2 separate regions of the Homo sapiens genome follow, and region 2 is linked to region 1. The links are contacts of gene promoters, found by promoter capture Hi-C in human tissues and cell types (Jung and others, 2019). All regions are on one chromosome and are shown on one strand. The core of a region is centred on a gene start or on the middle of the fragment in contact, and the rest is flanking DNA. Distances in the headings are between cores, read along the strand shown.

Evidence for each region. Contacts are between HindIII fragments. The study calls those that stand out against the background at their distance.
Region 2: a fragment that was not itself captured here is called in contact with the fragment with the promoter of IGSF6 in region 1 in 1 of the 25 tissues and cell types used here (lymphoblastoid cells).

What each region holds. Positions count from the first base shown.
Region 1 is chr16:21,649,648-21,655,540 of GRCh38, forward strand. It overlaps IGSF6 (immunoglobulin superfamily member 6), which reads right to left and starts at 2,961. Exons shown (of 6, transcript NM_005849.4): 1 at 2,885-2,961. The coding sequence starts at 2,951. It overlaps METTL9 (methyltransferase 9, His-X-His N1(pi)-histidine), which reads left to right. Exons shown (of 5, transcript NM_016025.5): 5 at 5,580-5,893. The coding sequence ends at 5,785. The HindIII fragment of the contact is 6,081 bases long and covers 862-5,893 here.
Region 2 is chr16:22,102,394-22,108,965 of GRCh38, forward strand. It overlaps VWA3A (von Willebrand factor A domain containing 3A), which reads left to right. Exons shown (of 34, transcript NM_173615.5): 6 at 1,082-1,136. Among named protein-coding and RNA genes, the nearest start is that of VWA3A, 13 kb to the left of the region's middle. The HindIII fragment of the contact is 8,634 bases long and covers 1-5,671 here.

The sequences.
Region 1 (5,893 bases), core at 1,711-4,210:
ATAATGTTTTTATTTTTATTTGTAAAATTATTTTTAAAAAGTGGACGATTCCATTATTTACACATTTTTATTTTTGAGATAGGGTCCCACTGTGTCGCCCAAACTGGAATGCAGTGGTGTGATCTTGGCTAACTTACTGTAGCCTTTGTCTTCTGGGCTCAAGCAATCCTCTCACTGCAGCCTCTGGAGTAGCTGAGACTATAGGTGTGCACCACCACGCCTGGCTAATTTTTTTATTTTTAGTAGAGACAGGGTTTTGCGATGTTGGCCAGCCTGGTCTTAAACTCCTGGGCTCAAGCAATCCACTCGCCTCAGCCTTCCAAATTGGGTAGTGTTTTTAAAAGGGAAGCCAAAGAGCCAGGCGTGGTGGTGTGGCCATTAGTCACAGCTACTCAGGAGGCTGAGACCGGAGGCTGATTGAGCCCAGGAATTCCAGGCTGCAGTGAGCTGTGATGGCACCACTGCACTCCAGCCTGGGCAGCATTGTGAGTCCCTGTCTCTATTAAAGGAATAGAGTCTGGACGTGCACTCCAGCCTGGGCAGCATTGTGAGATCCTGTCTCTATAAAAGGAATAGAGGCTGGGCATGGTGGCTCACGCCTGTAATCCCAGCACTTTGGGATGCCGAGGCGGGCAGATCACCTGAGGTCAGGCGTTCGAGACTAGCCTGGCCAACATGGTAAAACCCCATCTTTACTAAAAATACAAAAAATTAGCCAGGTGTGGTGGTGGACGCCTGTAATCCCAGCTACTTGGGAGGCTGAAGCAGGAGAATCGCTTGAACGTAGGAGGTGGAGGTTGCAGTGAGCTGAGATTGTGCCACTGCACTCTAGCCTGGGTGACAGAGTGAGACTCTTGTCTCAAAAAAAAAAAAAAAAAAAATAGAGGTTGGGGTGGCGGGGATAGCTGACTTTCAACACTTTTCTTTAAAAACTAGTAGTATAGGATAAAAACAGGTATTTGTAACTTTGGAATTTCATATCTCTACTTATTTCCACCTTCTTCCCAATTAGGCTATGTGTGGGAGAAAACCAATTGTAATGATTTCCTCTGTGAGCAGGAACTTGTGATGAAACTGTGGTTCCCTCCCCCAACCAGTTAGGCAACCTATTAACAAAAAAGAGAAGTTTGGATATGTCACACCACAGCCTGCTTCTGTGAATGATTTCTTTTAAGAATCCTCATATTCTAGGAATTGTTTTTTAAACACAGTATCCAATGAAAAGGTTGAAGATTTATTTCCTCCATGGAGGGAATAGAAAGATTATTCTTATTATTTTAAAAAACCATATTGAGGCTGGGCATGGTGGCTCATGCCTGTAATCCCAGCATTATGGGAGGCCGAGGCGGGCGGATCACGAGGTCAGGAGATCGAGACCATCCTGGCTAACACGGTGAAACGCTGTCTCTACTAAAAATACAAAAAATTAGCCGGGTGTGGTGGCAGATGCCTGTAGTCCCAGCTACTCGGGAGGCTGAGGCAGGAGAATGGCGTGAACCCGGGAGGCGGAGCTTGCAGTGAGCCGAGATCTTGCCACTGCACTCCAGCCTGGGTGACAGAGCGAGACTCCGTCTCAAACAAACAAAAAAGCCATATTGAAAGTAGGAAGAGAACTAATTCTTGACATTTAAACAAAGCTGTCTCTCTATCTAGTAAGTAAGAAGTAAGTAAATGTCTTGCTCTGTTGCCCAGGCTGGAGTGCAGTGGCACAATCACAGCTCCCTATAGCCTGAAAGTCCTGGGCTCAAGTGATCCTCCTGCCTCAGCCTCCCAGGTGGGTGGGACTGCAGGTGCAGTGCAGGTGCCATCACGCCCAGCTATTTTTTTTTCTTGTGTAGAAATGGGGGTCTCATTATGTTGTTCATGCTGGTCTTGAACTCCTGAGCTCAAGTGATCCTCTCACCTTGGCCCCCAAAGTGCTGGGATTACAGGCATGAACCACCACGCCCAGCCCAAAGCTTTATTATATTAGATTTCAAATTTCTAACATATCAAAGTAGCGAAGTAGTACAGTCAACCCCCTGCCATCACATGGCTTCGACCCAATCTTGTTTCTTTTCTCCTCCCACCTACTCCCTCACTCCCATATTATTTTAGAGCAAATCCCAGCCATTTTATCTGCATCTTTCAGAATATATCTCTAAAAGACAGGAATTCTTCTTTAAAATAATGCTAATTAAAATAGTCTATGAAAGTAATATATACTTATTAGCAAAAAACAGGTTATTAAAAGTAGAAGCAAAAAGTCACCCATAGTCCTTTTGCCTGAAATAACTCCCATTAACATTTTGATATATTTCTTCACAGATGAGAAAAAATTAAGAACTTTCCCCCCTTCCCTGCCCTATAATCCAAATTGTGTGGGCAAATCTGAGATTACTAGATGTATTGGAAATCCTTTCTCTTTCATAGATAAAAAAACAGAAGTAGACAGAATTTTAAAAATAGATATACTATGGGATGGCTATTGGAGTCATGGCAGTTTTTTTTTTCTTAAATGAAAAGTACTTTTATAGAAATTGTTCTTTGAAAATATTCAGCAAATAATCATTTATTGCTTTCTATGTGCAGATCAAGTTTGTATGATAATTAAATTATTGATAACTTATACCTACGATTTTAAGAATATTTTCAACCCTTTGGTCAGATTGTCTCCAATTAGCATAATAGCAAAGAGACTTTTCAAGGTTAATATGAAACTTTTTCTCAGCTATTTTTTTATTGTCTATTTCTCAGGGGAAAAAGGAAACTTATCCTCTTAGGCAGTTTTCATAATGTTATACATTTAAAAATTAATCTGAAGGAGCTTAAAATATAAATGCATTAGGTGAAAAATAGCAGTTGATTTAAATAAAATGAAGGAGGAGAAGAAAAAGAACCTTACCGACACAAAATAGAATGAGATTGGTTTGCAGATGGCGAGCGATGTTGCTTCTGCTCGCAGTCCCCATTTCTGTGTATGCCGGGGCGGGTTGGGGTGTGTATTTGAAAGGAAAGTTGGCTTTCTTTTTTCAGAAGGGAAGAAGAGCTGAAGAGAGGAACCTCTTATGAAGGAACCATAATCAGGAACTTTTTGAAATTGTGCAAGGATGGCTTCACCATTTAACATTGAGATTTTGGCCTGGAGCACATTTAGAAATGTGCATATCTTTTTTTTTTCCATGGATTTTACAGTTGTCATAGGTGTTAGATGTTTCTGGGTGAGATTTTGATTTACACCTAGCACATATTTCCAGGAAGGAGTATTGTTTGACAAATAATTCGTACTTGGATTTTTCAGAACAGTTCAGTCACTGTCTAGGGTACCTGCTCTGGGTGCCACTCTGGGCCAGTAACTGCTGGGAACAAAGAACAGCAGAAGGAGAAGTGGCTTTGTGTAGAGATGAGAAAAGTTAGTAAACAACACATTCTAATGCAGCGAATAAATAAATTGTCTGTTATTAACTTTTTGTACTCCAGTTTTGAATCCAAAGACACCTGCCTTCCCCCCTTTTTTGACAGGGTCTCTATCACCCAGGCTGGAATGCAGTGGCAAGATTGCAGGTCATTGCAGCCTCAGCTTCCTGAGTAGCTGGGACTACAGGCATGCACCACCACCCCTGGCTAATTTTTTTTTTTTTTTGTAGATTCTGTGTTGTCTAGGCTAGTCCTGCCCTCAAGCGATCCCCCTGCCTTGGCCTCCCAAAGTGTTAGGATTACAGGTGTGAGCCACCATGCCTGGCCCAAAGACCCCCTTTTAATGTGTTGAGAAACAAATATGTGGGCCCTCTGTCCTCTGTGTCCTCTCCCCCAGCACTTAGTGGTGATTCAGTAAGGGTCTTCTTTGTAAAGCAGCAGAAACAGACTCAGGCTGACTTAAAAGGAAATTTATGCAAACATTTGAAGGTAGATCCTAGAGTCACTGGGAGGGCTAGTGAATCTTGTGTGGGGTCCACAGCCAGGAAGAATGCCTCAAATCACACCATAAACAGGTCTGAAGAGGATGCTACTGCCACTGCCAAACACTAGGTGCCATCAGCCCTGTTGTCAGCATCGCTCAACCACTGCCCCAGCCCCTTGGTCTCACTGCCATTGCTCCACCCCCAGAGAAGGAGAAGCTCACATCCCCACTACTCTGGGTCACTGGCTCTCCATTCCAGGGCATGGGCAAGTGTGCCTGGCTTAGGCTGCGTGCCAGTGCCTCAGCTGCACGGCAGGCCAGGAAAGCGGCTCCCAGGCCTTGTGTCTCTCCCAGACTCTGGGCAGGCAATTCCCCAGACATGGGAAGAGCGTCATCTGCACCACTGAAAATTATGAAAAATCTCCCCACCATGATATGATGTCTGTGCCCTTGGCATCTGCTCATGATATATTTTCTCATTAACAGAAAGTTATTCTCAGTCTGTTTTGTTTTTTTTTTTTTTTTTTTTTTTGAGACAGAGTCTCGCTCTGTCGCCCAGGCTGGAGTGCAGTGGCACGATCTTGGCTCGCTGCAAGCTCCGCCTCCCGGGTTCACACCATTCTCCTGCCTCAGCCTCCCAAGTAGCTGGGACTACAGGTGCATGTTGCCATGCCCAGCTAATTTTTTTGTATTTTTTTTAGTAGAGACGGGGTTTCACTGTGTTAGTCAGGATGGTCTTGATCTCCTGACCTCGTGATCCGCCCACCTCGGCCTCCCAAAGTGCTGGGATTACAGGCATGTGCCACCACGCCCGGCCTCAATCTGGTTTTAACACTTCAACAGATGTATGTAGTTTTTGTATCACCATAGCACCTAAAAAGTACCCCCAAAGTTAAATATACTGTCATCTCTGTGTGTGTGTCTGTAGTCAGTGCCAGGTTTGTATGTGAATTTGAGGACCTTCCCTAGTCCCCTTGTCCCCCAGGCATCTCCTGCTCATAGGTTTGGAAATGACTGATAGAGGCTTCATCTCTAGTCCAAGAAATGCTGGACGGTGTATCCATCCTACTGTTCCATCTCTCTCTGGTCCTGGAGCTTAATGTTTATGAAATTGTTCTGAAAAGGCAAAGAATGAGTCAACTTCCCTAGAAAAACTCCCCAATGATCTGCTTTTCTAAATTAAAATCCTTCATGAGCCTGTTTTTATTTTCAGCCTAATAAATCTCTCTAGGTAGTAAGTTGCATAAGTTTACTATGCCAGTGGTATTTTCTTGCATTTGTCCAAAACTGTCCTTCAGATATTACATGTTGCTCTCTGTTTCAGTATTCCAGCATTTAATGACCAGTTTTCCAAACCCATTAACCATTACACCCTGCAGTCAGTCTATTGGCAGATACTACCCAAAACTGTCAGAGAAGATAACAGTGTGGGGCCTTGGATCCAGACAAACCTGGGCTTACATTTCCATACTGACACTCATTAACCTTGCAAGCGTGGGCAAGTTCTTCACCCCTTCTGAGTCTGTTCTTTATCTGCCCACCTGTCTCAAAGAGTACCTGGGAAGTACAAAAGAGGTAACTCATGAAGCCCTCAGGCTTGGAACGTACCAAGTCCTTGGTAGATATGGCTCCTCCCTGCTTCCCTCTTTAAATCACTTGTTTGTTCAAGAATTTAACTGAATGTTCTTATTTGTATTAGTAGGTGGCAAGTGGGAGAAACCATCAGAAATTTTGGAAATCAAAGGACAGAACTGGGAAGAACAAGTGAATAGTCTGCCTGAAGTTTTCAGAAAAGCTGGTTTTGTTATCGAAGCTTTCACCAGACTACCATACCTGTGTGAAGGCGACATGTATAATGACTACTACGTTCTGGATGACGCTGTCTTTGTTCTCAAACCAGTATAAACACGTGGAGGTCGAAGTCTTCAGAGTCCGCACCCTCCGGGATGTGCCCTTGGAAGAGGGTCTGTGTTCACAATTACGTGAAGGGAGGACCCTTGGGGACCGCCATTC
Region 2 (6,572 bases), core at 105-2,604, 450 kb after region 1:
GCTCTATTCATAACTCATGTATCCCTTATGACTCTATCTACCACCCACTGCCCCATGATCTCATTTCCAAAGACCTTTTTTGTCCCTCTCTAGGCCCCCAAATCTCACCTGCCCCCAGTAAGAACAAGTCAATTAAATTAAAGTGACCTAGTCCTTACCTTGTGCATATGATATATGCTAGTCTTCAACCAGTCATTGCAAGCCAGGCATGCAATAAGGCAAGTTCAAGAAGGTCCCCCAGCTACTTTTCAGAAACTAGGTTTTTTGTTAATCAATCCAGTAGAAACGATTGCTTAACTGCCTCTGTTGTGCCTTTATGATCAGTTTCCAGGAGACTAGGAACAATTCCTTCTGAGAAGACACAGATTTGAGCAAGTGCAAGGGTGGTCTTCCAACTTTCTCGTAAGAACACCCTCCCCCACCCTCCACAGACCTGCCCTCACCGGGCAGAGTGAGCACAGAGTGAGTGAGCTATGTGGAGAAAGGAGACGAGGTTACATGAGCAGGTTGAAGTCTGGGAGGGCCTGATTCCACCCCTTGATCCACCAAACCGTTGTCATTTATCCTGTGCACTGTGTCACCAATAGAGCAGCACCTATACACTCGATCCCTTTCACAATCTCCTTATACCTAGTGCCCTGGCAAACAAGTATCTTCAGTTTTGTCTTTCCTCGATTGTGCCCAGGCTTGAGTGCAGTGGAACAATCATAACTCCATGCAGCCTTGAACTCCTGGGCTCAAGTGATCCTCCCACCTCAGCCTCCTGAGTAGCTGGGACTACAGGCATGCACCACCATACCCAGCAAATTTTTTTATTTTTTGTAGAGACAGGGTTTCACTAGGTTGCTTAAGCTGGTCTTGAACTCCTGGCCTCAAGTGATCCTCCCACGTCAGGCTCCTGAGTAGCCACGACTACAGGCGTGCACTACAGTGCACCTAAAAGGTTCACCACCTTCTTCCAAGAACCTATGCACATTAAAAAAAAAAACAATTATTCATACCTGCCTTTTGTGTATGTAAGTGGCTGTTGCTCAGTGATGACGCTGGCCTTGGGTGATGAGTCTTTCTGATGTCTTGACAGCACTATTGAAGTCTATCAAGAGAGAATTCAGTGGCTCACAGAAAACAGCAAGAAGGTAACGGGCATAGATTTCATTCTTTGCCCCCTTTCACTCATTCCATTTGTATTTGTTAGAACCCTTTCAGTTGCAAATGTAGACCTCCAATATAAATTGCTTAAGCTAAAAAAAGGCATTTACTAACCTAAGTAAATGAAAACCCCAGCCACAGCTGGATCCAGGTGCTCAGATGATGTCACCTCTATGCCTGTGGGCTCTGCTTTCCTGAGTTGGTTTTATTCTCAGGACATCTCTCTTCAGGCATAGGAAGGTGGTGATCAGCAGCTCCAGTAAAAAGGAACTTCACTTCCTGTTCCCTGCACAACTTCCAAATCCTGGGACTGACTCTCATTGACCAATTTACACCAATCATCATAGCCAAGGAGATGAAATATACTATCACTATTTGACTAGGCCTGGAACTAGTGCTGACTTCTGGGGCAAAAATAAAATAAAATAAAAGACAGGGGGGAAGGGGAAAGAGACTGGATTAGCCCCCCAGCCCTCATGGACTGAAAAAGAGAGACAGATGGTTGCATGTGGAAGGCCAGAGCACTGTTACCAGAAGGGGGAATGGGTGCTGGGCAGGTGAGAATGCAGATGTGCACTGGGCATTTGACTTTAGACCCGCAATGAGATTTAGAAGACTAAGGCTGATCATCTGGATATCACTTTTCTTAAAAGTTTGATTAAGGGCTGGGCATGGTGGCTCAGGCCTGTAATCCCAGCACATTGAGAGGCCTAGGTAGGTGGATCACCTGAGGTTGGGAGTTCAAGAGCAGCCTGGCCAACATGGTGAAACCTCATCTCTACTAAAAATACAAAAAATTACCTGGGCGTGGTCGTGCAAGCCTGCAATCCCAGCTATGCAGGAGGCTGAGGCAGGAAAATCGCTTGAACTCAGGAGGTGGAGTTTGCAGTGAGCCGAGATCACGCCATTGCACTCTAGCCTGGGAGACACAGTGAGACTCCCTCTCAAAACAAACAAACGAAAAGAAAACCCACAAAAGTTTGATTAAGGGCTAGGCATAGTGGTGCACACCTGTAGTCCCAGCTACTTGAGAGGCTGAGGCAGAAGGATTTCTTGAGCCCAGGAGCCTCAAGGCTGCAGTGAGCTATGATTTTGCCACTGCACTCCAGCCTGGGCAACAGAGCAAGACTTGTCTTTTAAAAAAAAAAAATTTTTTTTAATTAAATGTTTTTCTCAGAACCCAAGGGTAGAAGAGTGACCATGGGCAAATGAACACTTTGATTTGCTTTCTTGTTTGTTTTAGCTTAATTGCCATCAACTGGCACTTTTCTGGCTTCCCGTTTGCTTCCACCTTAGGCACAATCTTCAGCTCTTGCCTTAAACCCTGGGAAAAGCAGATGCTAAAAGTCATGCTCCCTACTCCCAGTCCCCACCTCTACCCAGATGCAGATGCTAAAAGTCATGCTCCCTACTCCCAATCCCCACCTCTACCCAAGACTAGTGGGTAACAACATAGTGCTAAGCCTGCCTGTCCCGCCAATTCCAGGCTGTGGTCTTCACCTCAGATCCAGAACCTCCTTCACTTGCTTGGACGAGTTGAGTCAACAGATGCTTGTCTGCAGCTATAGCTGGACCCCTCTGGTTGCCCATGGTAACAGGCAGAGAGACCCCACGGGAATGAAATCCTCCCATACTCCATAGGCATCCACGTAGGGCATGCTGCTCTCACCCCCCGACCTCCACTACCCCATCCTCGCACCTTTGTCAAAGTGGGCGGGGATTGATAGCCCCTTCATCCTGCCACCCCTTTCTGACGGAGCTACAGAGAAACCATGGAAGAGCCCAGGGAAACGATCACCTGTAAATCAGCTTACCAGGTCCCTGGGTGTTGAGGCAGGCAGCCTGAGGTGATGGCCAGATAATCGCTGGTCCCTGTTCCTGTTCTGCTCTGTCACTAAGGCCCTAGAAAGTGGCCTCGCTTCTCTGGATCTGTGTCTGCAGAGGATAAAAGGAGAAGTTATAAACTAGTGGCATGCAGGCCAAATCTGGCCCACAGCCATTCTGTTTAGGCTCCCTAATTTTAACTATTTTTCAAATTAGTTGCCAAGATTTTTTAAATCCTGGTATTTCACTTTTATGTCTGCTATCAGACTTCTCTTGAAAAATGAGAATATCTGGTATTACCAGGCTCCAATTGCCTCTTATGTACTTGTCCAGTTATTTCTATGGAATAAATGTCTAGAACTTCAATGGCTAGGTTTAGGGAATGAATGTTTTCAATTCCAAAAGCTGTAAAGCCCTCATGGCAGCTTGTTTTTAATTTAAAAAAATAGAACTGGCTCTAGATTTCAACTTCTTGCCTCCAGATTGGCAATACCCTAGAATATTTGGGTCATGAATTCAACAAACATGTATTGAGTGATTATTGTATATCAGGCACTGTTCTAGGATTGAGACTACCAACATGACCAGTACTTGCTGAAGGAATGGTTCGCTGTCGGGGGAAAAAACATGACCAATACTAAGGTCCTGCCTTCATGGAGCTTACGTGCTGTAAAAAGAAACAAAGCTGAGTAAGGGAACAGAGGGTGGAACAGGACTATTTAAATGGAATGGTTGAGGCCGGGCGTGGTGGTGCACACCTGTAATCCCAGCACTTTGGGAGGCCGAGGCAGATGGATCACTTGAGGTCAGTAGTTTGAGACCAGCCTGGCCAAAATGCTGAAACCCCGTCTCTACTAAAAACACAAAAATTAGCCAGGCGTGGTGATGGGCGCCTGTAATCCCAGCTACTAGAGAGGCTGAAGCAGAAGAATTGCTTGAACCCAGGAGGCAGAGGTTGCAGTGAGCCGAGATCGTGCCACTGCACTCCAGTCTGGGAGACAGAGTGAGACTCCCTCTCAAAAATAAAATAAAAAATAAATAAATGGAATGGTTGAAGATACTCACTCTGAAGAGGAGGCATTTGAACAGGCACCTAAAGAAAGTGTGGGGGTAAGCCCTACCAATATCTTGGGGAGAATGTTCCAAGCAGAGGAGACAGCAAGTCCAAAAGTCTTGAGGCAGGAACGAGCTTGGTATGTTCCAGAAGCAGCACATGGGCCAGTGCAGCAAGCACAGAGTGAGCTATGTGGAGAAAGGAGATGAGCTTAGATGAGCAGGTTGAAGTCCGGGAGGGCCTGATTCCAAAGCTGAGGGCTTTAATAAAGCAGGGGAGTGACCTGATCCAACAAGTTTCAAAAGAATCACGCTGGCTGCTGCATAACTTGACTGCACAGGGGGTAAAAGTGGAAACAGGACAACCGCTCTGGGCGAGAACGATGGAGGCTTGGACTCAAGCTCTAGGGTCGACAGAATGAGATATGGTAGATTCAATGCATGGCTGGAAGGTAGGACCAGCAGAACTTGCTGATGGATTGGATAGGTCTGGGGCCAGAGTGCCTGGGCCAGTGTTGAATGGCATTTACTAAGATGGGGAAGGCTGAGGGAGAAACAGTCTTGAAGAAAACTGAGAGGTCTTGTTTTGGACATGTGAGGCCTGAGGGACTTAGCAGACATCCAGACAGAGAAGCGGAGCAGGATGTTGGGTGCACAGGTCTGAAGTTCCAAGAGAAATCTGTTTGAAGATGGACCTCAGATAATCATTTAGCATTCAGATGGTATTCAAAGTCATGACACTCAGATCACTTAGAGAGTGATCAAAGAACAGTGGTTCTCCACCAGGGGTGATTTTGCCCCACGGGAACATTTAGCAATGTCTGGAGACATTTTAGGTTGTCATTGCTGAAGGAGAGGGGTTGTTACCTACATCTAGTTTATCAGCAGCCAGGGATGCTGCTCACCATCCTGAAATGCACAGGACAGCTCCCTACAACAGATAATTATCCAGCCCAAATGTCAATAGTGCCAAATGCCAATAGTGCCAAATGTCAATAGTGCCAAAGTTGGCAAACCCTGGGGTAGATAAAGAAGAGAGTGGCCAGGCACGATGGCTCATGGCTGCAATCTCAGCACTTTGGGAGGCTGAGGCTGAAGGATCTCTTGAGGCCAGGAGTTCAAGACCAGCCTGGGCAATGCAGTAAGACCCTATCTCTACAAAAAATTTTAAAAAAAAATAGCCAGGTGTGGTGGCACACACCTATAGTCCCAGCTACTTAGGAGATTGAGGCAGGAGGATCACTTGAGCCCAGGAGTTCCAGGCTGCAGTGAGCTATGATTGTGCCACTGTGCACATGGAAGCTCTTGTTAAAATAAAGACTCTAATTAGGTAAGCCTGGAGTGGGACCTGAGACTCTGCATTTCTAACAAGCTGGGGGATGGTGATGCTGTCAGCCCATGACCCACACCTTCAGAAGCAAGTTCCTAGGGCACGCCAGTATTGTGACTTTGGAACAAGGAGGAGGGGCTCTCTAGGAAAGGAAATTAAGAAAATATGGCCAGTGAAGAGAGGGGAAAGTGGGAGAATATAGTGTCCTGGAAGACATGTGTACTAAGTGTTTTAATTTGTTAAATTCTTGACACAGTCAAACTGTGCTATATGCTACTCAGAGTTCGGGAAAGTCAAGAATTTGGATTTAACCCTTGGGCTTGGCAAGACAAAGGTCATTGATCACCTTGACATGTGTGGTTTCAGAGGAATAGGAAGGTGAGAACCTAACTTGAATGGGTCCCCGGGAGGTAAGGATGTGTGGCTAAGATGGAGAGCAGAAAAATTAAACAGCAGGAGGAAGAGGTAGCATACTGAGAGATCTATATCTTTTTTAAGATGGGCAATATTATAACCTGTTTGTATGGTGATGGAAATTGTACAATCAATAGGAATGGATGATCCAGGAGAAGGGATGATTACAGAAGCAGAGTTCCTATTTAGCAAGAGAAGATCCAGTAATGCAAGTCAAATGTTAGCCTAGACCATTGCTGGTTGGCCTTAGATGCATTTTAACTGGAAAAAGGTGAAGTATGTAGGGCTATGGGCTGGTAGGTCAGTAGACTCTGCATGGAAAGATTTTTTTTAATTCTCTCCAATTTGTTTTTGTTTTCTCAGCAAAATTGGAGGCAAAATCACTTGCTGGGAGAGTACAGAAAGGGAGTGCTGGAGGTGTGAGAGGAGATGTAAAATACTCTCTGAGAGCAGAAGAGTGAATTCAACAGGAAAATTAGATATCCAGTAAAGTAGGATTTAAGGAAAAACACCGAATGGAACCTACTGCCCCTAGAGAACTATCAATTTCATGTGAATGAAAGTTCCAATCCACAATGCAGCTATAACAAGATGAACATTTATGTGCAGAGTCAAACAGCATTGACAAGTAATACAGACAGTCCTTGACTTAGAATGGTTCAACTTAGGATTTTTCCACTTATGATGGGTTTATCAGGACGTGGCCCCATCATAAGTCAAGGAGTAATAACTGTAGAGTAATACCGTTTAGAAACATAATTAGAAATTTGGATGTGGTGGCACATGGTTGCTTGAGCCCAGG